2 separate regions of the Homo sapiens genome follow, and region 1 is linked to region 2. Evidence: promoter capture Hi-C in human tissues and cell types (Jung and others, 2019). All regions are on one chromosome and are shown on one strand. Each heading gives the region's core, a stretch centred on a gene start or on the middle of the fragment in contact. The rest is flanking DNA. Distances are from core to core; before and after follow the strand shown. Region 1 overlaps KYAT1-SPOUT1 (KYAT1-SPOUT1 readthrough). Region 2 holds the start of DOLPP1 (dolichyldiphosphatase 1).

Region 1 (5,059 bases), core at 651-3,150, 220 kb after region 2:
ACCCGGCCACACATAGGCCCGATGCACTGCCAGTCCCCTGCAATGGAAGCCGATCCTGGTTTCCAGCCCCACCCCCAAGGCTGCAAGATTGTTTAAGCATATCCGTGTGCAGCACAGGTGCCACCCAGCTTCTTGACCCCCATGGAGCCAGTGATCTGGACACACAGAAGGCACCGCCTTTCCTGAGAACTGGCAGTGCCCAGAGAAGGCAAGGGGCCAAGGCTGGGGCAGGGCAGAGAAGAGGGCCACAGCTGGGATCTGTTTCTCCTGAGTTTCTGCCCTGTGCTGGCACCAGGTGTACAATCTGCTATAAGGCCTGCAGGAGCTCAATGTAAGTGTTGTTATTTTAGTATGTTAGGAATTTCCTCACCTGTTAATGAGGGTGAGGATAGCACTTGCTTTACAGAGTTGTTGAAAGGATCCAGTGACAAAAGTATTGGGACAGAGTGAGTCCTAGTAAATTAAAGCTGGTTGTATTATTAATATTATTCTTGGCCAAGTACAGTGGCTCACATTTGTAATCCCAGCACTGGGACGCTGCGGCAGGAGGATGCCTTGAGCCCAGGAGTTTGAGACAAGCCTGGGCAACACAGTGAGACCACATCTCTACAAAAAATACAAAAATTAGCTCAATTCACTTGAGATGATGAAGACATGACTTAGAATGTTGTCACTTCAGGAAAAAAAGACTGATTTGATGGACACAGAGTCCGATGTGGGGGAGAGTGTCAGAGAGAGAATTGACCTACCAGGCAACTGTGGGTTTTTAACTCAGTGGTCAGAAAGCAGTAGAGTGGGTCCCGGTAGGGTGAAATCCAGCTCCTCCTGTAGTCCTAGAAGAAGTAGCAAGATGTTGGGTCTAGGACAGGAAATGGCTAACCTAAAGAGACCCTTTGGCCCAGGATGGTTCCCATCCCAAGACACCCCTCAGTCCTGGGCCAGCAGATAGTTGGTCTTCATAGAACAGGCAGAGGGCACAGAGTGCCTCCCATGACCAGCCCTGGGCTTGGGCCTGCCCTTGGGCCGCTCATCCGTTTAGCTGAGTTACCTGAGCTAAAGCACCAGACTCCCTCCCTTGAGGTGACACCAAGGAATGTCCCTCCTGGGATGGCAGTAACACTACCCTTTGTTGCTCAAGGCACAGGTACTTAGTTTCAGGGGTCAGAGTACATACTTCAGGCCTCTCCTGGGAACCGCTCTCAAATCTAAGGAACGAGAGGGTGAGCTCTGGCATCGCCTTGTGTGTTAGCCCATTCTCCCACTGCTATAAAGAACTGCGCAAGACTGGGTCATTTATAAAGGAAAGAGATTTAATTGACTCACAGTTCCTCATGGCTGGGGAGGCCTCAGGAAACTTAAAATCATGGCAGAAGGGGAAGCAAACACGTTCTTCACATGGCGGCAGGAGAGAGAACTGCTGAGCAAAGGGGGAAAAGCTCTTTATAAAACCATCAGCTCTCATGAGAACTCACTCATTATCGCCAGCACAGCAGCATGGGGGTAACTGCCCCCATGATTCAATTACCTCCCACTGGGTCCCTCCCAGGACACGTGGGAATTATGAGAACTGCAATTCAAGATGAGATTTGGGTGGGGACACAGCTCAACCCCATCACCTTGGATTTGATTCCTAAGGCTGTTGTAACAAACTAGCCACACTTCATTGTATTGCGTTTGGCAGATATCACGGTCTTTGCAAATTGAAGCTTTGTGAGAACCTTGCACCAAGCAAGTCTATTGTTCCCATTGTTCCAACAGAATGTGTTCCCTTAGGGTCTGTGTGTAATTCCCACAATAGTTCAAACTTTATCATTATTATTATGTCTGACACGGTGATCTGTGATCAGTGATCTTTGATATTACTATTGTGCTTGTTTTGGGGAACCACAAACCATGCCCATATAAGATGGTAAACTTAATAAATGCGTGTGGGCCGGAGGCAGTGGCTCACAACTGTAATCCCAGCACTTTGGGAGGCCGAGGTGGGCAGATCACCTAAGGTCAGGAGTTCGAGACCAGTCTGACCAACATAGTGAAACCCCATCTCTACTAAAAATACAAAAATTAGCCAGGCATGGTGGAATGCGACTGTAATCCCAGTTACTTAGGCTGAGGCAGGAGAATCGCTTGAACCCAGGAGGCGGAGCTTGCAGTGAGCCGAGATTGCGCAACTGCACTCCACCCTGGGCGACAAAGCAAGACTCCGTTTCAAAAAAAAAAAAAAAAGGCTGAACAAACTGAAAAACCAGCGGCTCTTTTTCAGTTCATCAGAAAATTAGGTCACAGGGTAACCTGCTGCCCCCAAACTGGAGAGGCAGAAAGGTAGATACAGAGAATCATGATTTGCCAGAGCAGAAACCTTCCCTGGAATCAGCACCTGGGTGGGAAAACCTGAACTGCAACTGACGAATGTCTGGCAGCGTGGATGTGTGCTGCTGGTTAATGTTAGGTGGCAGCTGGACTGGAGTAAGGAATACCTAGAGAATGGTGAAACATGACTTCTGGGTGTGTCTGTGAGGGTGTTTCCAGAGGAGATTGGCGTGGGAGTCAGTGGACTGAGTGGGGAAGATCCGCTCTCAATGTGGGTGGCAGTATGCAATTGGTTCACGGCTTGAATAAAAACAAAAGAGGAGAAAATTTTCCTCTTTCTGTCTCTGTCTCTCCTGGAGCTGGAAGATTCTCCTTCTCCTGCCCTTTGGATATCAAAACTCTAGGCTCTTCAGCCTTGGACTGAGAATTATCCCAGTGGCGTCCCTGGTTCTGAGGCTTGCAGACTTGGACTGAGCCACGCTACTGGCACCTCTTGCAAATAGTCTCTCAGGGGACTTCTCAGCCTCCATTAATTGCGTGAGTCAATTTCCCTATAAATCCCCTCTCATGCACTTTGGGAGGCCGAGGCGGGTGGGTCACGAGGTCAGGAGATCGAGATCATCCTGGCTAACACGGTGAAACCCTGTCTCTACTAAAAATACAAAAAATTAGCTGGGTGTGATGGCGGGCACCTGTAGTCCCAGCTACTTAGGAGGCTGAGGCAGGAGAATGGTGTGAACCTGGGAGGCAGAGCTTGCAGTGAGCCGAGATCGCGCCACTGCGCTCCAGCCTGGGCAACAGAGCGAGATTCTGTCTCAAAAAAAAAAAAAAATGGCTGGGCAAGGTGGCTCACCAGCACGATCTCGGCTCACTGCAACCTCCACCTCCTGGGTTCAAGCAATTCTCCTGTCTCAGCCTCCTGAGTAGCTGGGAGATTACAGGCATGCGCCACCACACCCAGCTAATTTTTGTATTTTTAGTAGAGATGGGGTTTCACCATGTTGACCAGGCTGGTCTCAAACTCCTGACCTCAGGTGATCCACCCACCTCAGCCTCCCAAAGTGCTGGGATTACAGGCAGGAGCCACTGCACCCAGCTGAGAGTAACTTTTTTTTTTGTTGTTGAGACGGAGTCTCCCTCTGTTGCCCAGGCTGGAGTGCAGTGGCGCGATCTCAGCTCACTGCAGGTTCAGCCTCCTGGGTTCACGACATTCTCCTGCCTCAGCCTCCCGAGTAGCTGGGACTACAGGTGCCCACCACCACACCTGGCTAATTTCTGTATTTTTAGTAGAGACAGGGTTTCGCCGTGTTAGCCAGGATGGTCTCGATCTCCTGACCTCGTGATCCGCCTGCCTTGGCCTCCCAAAATGCTGGGATTACAGGCGTGAGTCACCGTGCCTGGCCAAGGGTAACTATTTTTAAGTATGCCAGAGCATTCCTCCAAAATACTCTTTTTCTTTCTTTTCTTTTCTTTGCTTTTTTTTTTTTTTTGAGATGGAGTCTTGTTCTGTCACCCAGGCTGGAGTGCAACGCACAATCTCAGCTCACTTTAGCCTCCAAGCAATTCCCTTGCCTCAGCCTCCCGAGTAGCTGGGATTACAGGTATGAGCCACCATGTCCAGCTAATTTTTGTGTTGTTAGTACAGACAGGATTTCACCGTGTTGGCCAGTCTGGTCTCAAACTCCTGACCTCAAGTGATCTGCCCACCTCAGCCTCCCGAAGTGCTGGAATTATAAGCGTGAGCCACCGGGCCTGGCCTAAAACATTCTTTTTCTTTTTTTGTTTTTTGAGATGGAATTTCACTTTTGTTGCCCAGGCTGGAGTGCAATGGTGCAGTGGCTCACTGCAACCTCCGACTCTCGGATTCAAGTGATTCTCCAGTCTCAGCCTTCCAAGTAGCTGGGATTACAGGTGCATGCCATCACGCCTGGCTAATTTTTGTAGTTTTAGTAGAGATGGGGTTTCATCATATTGGTCAGGCTGGTCTCAGACTCCTGACCTTAGGTGATCTGCCCGCCTTGGCCTCCCAAAGTGCTGTGATTACAGGTATGAGCCACCATGCCCGGGCTTTTTTTTTTTTTTTTTTTTATACATGGTCTCACTCTGTTGCCCAGGCTGGAGTGCAGTGGAGCAATTTTGGCTCATTGCAACCTCTGCCTCCTGAGCTCAAGCGATTCTCGTACCTCAGCCTCCTAAGTAGCTGGGACTACAGGTGCATGTGACTTCGCCCAGCTAATTTTTGTATTTTTGGTAGAGATGGGGTTTTGTCGTGTTGGCCAGGCTGGTCTCAAACTCCTGACCTCAGGTGACCCACCCACCTCAGCCTCCCAAAGTGCTGGGATTACAGACGTGAGCCACCGTGCCCAGCCTTGGCTGTTTGTGTATCTTTTTTGGAAACATTCAGATTTATGATTTGCAGATATTTCCTTCCATTCCATGGGCTGTCTTTTCATTTTCTTAATGGGTATCCTTGAAGCACAAAAGTTCTTAATTTTGATGAGGTCCAGTTTATTTTTTCTTTTGTTGTGTATGCTTTGGATGTTATGTCTAGAACCCCAAGGTCACAGAGATTTATTCCTATGTTTTCTTCTAGTTTTCTTGTTTTAGTTCATACATTTAGTTTTGTTTTTTGTTTGTTTGTTTGTTTTGAGACGGAGTCTCGCTGTGTCGCCCAGGCTGGAGTGCAGTGGCGTGATCTCTGCTCACTGCAAGCTCCGCCTCCCGGGTTCACGCCATTCTCCTGCCTCAG
Region 2 (4,903 bases), core at 19-2,518:
TCAGTGGATATTGACTGAATGAATGAATGGATGAATGAATGGTAGACAGGCAGGCAGGCAGGGCCCAGGACCTGGCAGGGCCATACCACCCCCAGTACAACCCAGAACACCAGCGTCAACGTTCTTTGGCATTCAGTCCTGGTGCCCTCAGCGGACCCAGGTTCTCACATCTCGCAAGACAGCAGCATGAGCAGGCCCTTCCCAGGCAACCAGGGCTCAATGAGGGGCTCCAGCCTTCCCTGGCACTCAACCATCTTACCCAGGGAGGGTCTTGCAAGGTGGGATAACATTAACTGCAGGTATTTACTGAACGCTTACTGCATGCCGGGCACTGTACTCAGCCCTTCTTGTGCCTCCTGCTATTTGATGCTCATACCATCACCAGAAGGTAAGCACTGTAATCAGTCCCACTTTAGAGATGAATTAACTTAAGCAGAGGCAGGCACCTGCACAAGGCCTCAGCCTCAACTGGAGCCCAGATGGGTCTGACCCCCACGCCCAGGCTCTGCGCCACTCTTACTAGACAGCCTCCAGAACGCCGCTAATGGACCTCTCAACTGGAAAGCCCTGCACTTCGAGAGGTGTGTCTGATGGGAAGCAACAGAAGTCAAGTTCCCGGAGGCTGCCCGCCCCCTCATCGGGTCCTCTCTGTTGTGGAATCGTGCCCTGCTCAGGGCGTGGCACCACAAGTACTCAAAAGCCTGGCTTCGGCTTGCACACTCCCAGCAACGGGGAGCTCTTTCTCTTACAAGCAGCCCAAAGCACTGTTCGAAGGAAACAAGACACTCCCTGCACGCTGGAACAGGAGTGCGGCCTCTCTGGGACAGGGGAGGGCGGGGAAGAAGGGCCAAGGTCCAGGCCAGGGATCTTTTCTCGCCTCACACAGATCCTCAACCCATTTCAGCCCACCGGCGCCCCGGGACCCGGGGGAGCGCCCTGGCCGCGCAGCCGCAGAGTGCGCGAGCGAGCGCCTCACAATTTCGCCCAGCTCATCCTCGCACCACTGCGCCTGCGCGGCGCGCGCGCCGGCCGAGCCCCTCCGTGGTTCACTATTTGACAGTTCCCACCCCGGTCCCCCGGCGCCCCCTCCGCGGGCTCGAGCAGGCCGGAGCGCCCGGGACTGAGAGGCCGTCCCTGGGAAGGCGTCCTTGGAGCCGGGACCGCCTTTTACCTGCAGGATATTCGACGTGGGTGAGGGTCACCGGCCGCCATGAAGCGGGGAGCGAGCACTGTCCGTCCGCTGCCATCTTACCCGGAGACCGGGCTTCTTCGAGCAGCCAATGGGGAGCCAGGGGGGCGGTGGTCCTGACCTATCACGCCGGGGAGGCGCCGTGCACCCAATCGGAGGCCAATATAGGTAGCGGCGCAGCCATTCAGCGTGCAGGCCGTGGGGGCTGGCCCGAGCGGCGAATCAGAGAGCGGGGCCCCTGGGAGCCAACGAGCCGCCCCAGCTGGCGCCCAATCTGGGGCGAGCGCAGGTAGGCATCTGGCCAATCAGAGAAGGGGAGGGTTCCAGCACCGAACAGGGAGCATAACAGCCAATCAGAAGGTGAGGCTGCCTCAGCTTGTGGGCAGGGCGGGCCAATCAGGCGCTGGCTTTGGGGGCGTGTTGAACTTTGGTGGGAGCTTTGGTTCGGCTGGGACCTGCGCCCTGAATGAAGGCTTCCCTGGTACCCCCTGCCGATCCGCGGTCTTGGGGACCTGCGCGTCCGATAGCGCGTGCTCGAAGAGGAGAGGCAACCTCAGCTCCAGGGGGTTTGAACCGACCCACTTTCAGTTACGAGTAAACTGAGACCAGAGAGCAGAGGGGGCTTATTTCCCTCTGCCCCATACTGGCCGGCGAAAGGGCAAGTCACACAGAGCAGGCGACCTTTTTGTCAAAAGTGTGTGGGGCGGGGCGCGCAGTAGGCGCCCTAAACGCTGGACTGAACAGAGAAGCTTAATTGATACTTAAGAGTGGAAGCTTAGCTACAGTTAAGGACTCCTTCCTCCTTTCATTCATTTAATAAAGATTTATTGATTCAGTCACGTCTATGCTACTTAATGAGGCGTCTTGGGAGCATTTCAAACAAGAAGTCGGTTTTCCACCTACCCCTCAGTTTTCCCAAGACATTCCTGCGTGAACAGCCACACCTTCCCACCCGCCTTCACCTCTCCTACCCGACTCTGTCTCTGGCTGGATTGGATTACAGTGCAGGTAAGGTGGGCTGGGAGGGCTCAGCCTCTTGTCTCCTGCCGCTAGCATGTGCTGTTTTTGTCTGTTTGTTTGTTTTTTGAGACAGGGTCTTGCTCTGAGGCCCAGGCTGGAGTGCAGTGGAACGATCTTGCTCAGCCTCCTGGGTCCAAGTGATTCTCCTGTCTCAGCCTCCCGAGTAGCTGTGACTACAGGCGCGCACCACCGCATCCGGCTAATTTTTGCATTTTTAGTAGAGACCGGGTCTTACCATGTTGGGCAGGCTGGTCTCGAACTCCTGGCCTCAGGTGATCCACCTGCCTCGGCTCCCAAAATGCTGAGATTACAAGCGTGAGCCGCCATGCCCAGCTAATTTTTTTTTTTTTTTTTTGAGACGGAGTCTCGCTCTGTTGCCCAGGCTGGAGTGCAGTGGCACGCCCGGCTAATTTTCGTACTTTTCGTAGAGACGGGGTTTCACCGTGTTGGTCAGGATGGTCTTGATCTCCTGACCTCGTGATCCGCCCACCTCGGCCTCCCAAAGTGCTGGGATTACAGGTGTGAGCCACCGCCCCTGGCCACCATGTGCTGTTTTGCTGCGTGGGATGTACTGCCTCTCCTGCCCTACTTTGCCCGGCCCAATCTGGTTCAGGTGTCTCCTCGGCTTACAGGTTTCCACAGTCAAGTGAGGGGCCAGTACTGGGCTCTCACGGTTGCATTTCCTGTCCTTTCTCAGCCCTGACCTCACTGGACTGTAATCGGCTCCCTATCCCTCCCAGTCAGCAGCGGCTCTCAGATTCATGGAGTGCTGAGATCAGCCTGTAGAAAACACAGATTCCTGGGTCACAATGGGGCCTGGGTTGATCCAGTAGGTCTGAGTTGGAGCCCAGGTGTCTGCATTCTTATGTGCTCTGGTGGTTCTGATACAGGTGGTTACAGCCACCACTGGAGAAACCCTGGGCAACATGAGGACAGGGCCTGGTACATCCTGAGCCTGGTCCAGACCAGACCTAGAGCAAGTGTCTGATAAGTGACACGAGCGCCCCTGAGGTGAGTTGAGAATTACCCAGGAAATCCCACTGAGAGTGGCTCTTTCTGCGAGTGGCCAGGCCAGTAGAGCGGGGACCGTGAGCTGGCCTGTGTGGCCGGAGATGATGGCGACTCAGAACCCACCAAAGAGCCCAGAAGGCCCACTGCCCTGCTGTGCGCACTCCCAGCCTGGGCTCGTCGGGGTCAGCTGGCCTCGGTTTCCTCAGGCACTGTCATTATTAGCCTCTGAGAAGCAGGAGGTGTGAGGAGCGGGCCGGGAGCTTCTCAGAATAGTTCCCTGGGACAGGACAGCCATCCATGATCTGGGCCACATTGCCGCTCCCAAATAGGCCTTGGGAGCAAAGTCCATGAAATGCAGGCCTGTCAGTGCTGGGAGCCTCCCGAGGGAGGATGAGGATGAGGAACTATGAAATGAGAGGGAGTTACCCAGGGAGGGTTTTCCTGGCAGAGAGAACAGTGTAAGCCAGTGTCCTGGGGCCCGCGTGTGGCTGGATGAAGTGGGCAAGAGGGAAAGAAGGGGTAAGGTGGTGGGGAGGAGGCCCACAGGGGCCTGACCACCCGAAACTTTGAGGGCACTGTTAATGGTGGGGACAGAGGGAAGCTCTGAAGGATGGGTTTGTTGTTGGGTTTGGTTTGGTTTTCTTGTTTAAAATAGAACATTCAGGGCAGGCACCGTGACTAAACCTGTAGTCCCAGCACTTTGAGAGGCCGAGGCGGGAGGATCGCTTGAGCCCAGGAGTTCAGGACTAGCTGGGCAATACAGCAAGACTTCATCTCTACAAACAAATTTTTAAAAATTAGCCAGGCATGGTGGTGCACACCTATGGTCCCAGTTACTCGGGAGGCTGAGATGGGAGGATCACATGAGCTGGGGAGGTAAAGGCTACAGTGAGCTGTGATCCTGCCGCTACACTTCAGCCTGGGCAGCAGAGCAAGACCCTGTCTCAAAAATATGGCTGGGTTGTAATCCCAGCACTTTGGGAGGCCGAGGCAGGTGGATCACCCGAGGTCAGGAGTTCAAGCCCAGCCTGGCCAACATGGTGAAACCCCGTCTCTACTAAAAATACAAAAATTAGCTAGGCATGGTGGCACATGCCTATAATCACAGCTACTTGGGAGGTTGAGGGAGGAGAATTGCTTGAATGTGGAGGTGGAGGTTGCAGTGAGCGGACATCACACCAGCCTGGGCAACAAGAGTGAAACTCTGTCTCAAAAAAAAAAAAAAAAATATATATATATATATATATACATGGCTGGGTGCAGTGGCTCACTCCTGTAATCCCAGCTCTTTGGGAGGCCAAGGCAGGCGGATTACTTGAGGTCAGCAGTTTAAGACCAGCCTGGCCAATATGGCAAAACTCCATCTCTACTAAAAATACAAAAATTAGCTGGGTGTGGTGGCATGCACCTGTAGTCCCAGCTACTCAGGAGGCTGAAGCAGGAGAATCGCTTGAACCTGGGAGACAGAGGTTGCAGTGAACCGAGATCGTGCCACTGCACTCTAGCCTGGGTGACAGAGCAAGACTGTCTAAAATATATATATATACATATATATGTATATGTAAATATTTCATACAGAAAATTTCAGAAATCGAATGTATACAGCTTGATGTGGTTTCATAAACTAAGCACACTTGTATAAGCAGCCCCCACATCAGGAACCAGGAACTTAGGAACCCTGGC

Evidence for each region. The method cuts DNA at HindIII sites, captures the fragments that hold promoters and counts their contacts. A contact is called where the count stands out against the background at its distance.
Region 1: a contact is called between a fragment that was not itself captured here and the fragment with the promoter of DOLPP1 in region 2, in 1 of the 25 tissues and cell types used here (dorsolateral prefrontal cortex).

Annotation. Positions count from the first base shown.
Region 1 is chr9:128,857,735-128,862,793 of GRCh38, reverse strand. The region is part of intron 1 of KYAT1-SPOUT1 (KYAT1-SPOUT1 readthrough); the gene reads left to right. All of the region lies in intron 1 of KYAT1 (kynurenine aminotransferase 1), which reads left to right. Among named protein-coding and RNA genes, the nearest start is that of KYAT1, 22 kb to the left of the region's middle. RefSeq lists a silencer at 1,030-1,324. The HindIII fragment of the contact is 5,279 bases long and covers 1-4,539 here.
Region 2 is chr9:129,077,476-129,082,378 of GRCh38, reverse strand. It overlaps DOLPP1 (dolichyldiphosphatase 1), which reads right to left and starts at 1,268. Exons shown (of 8, transcript NM_020438.5): 1 at 1,172-1,268. The coding sequence starts at 1,247. RefSeq lists a silencer at 841-1,570. The HindIII fragment of the contact is 10,069 bases long and covers 1-4,903 here.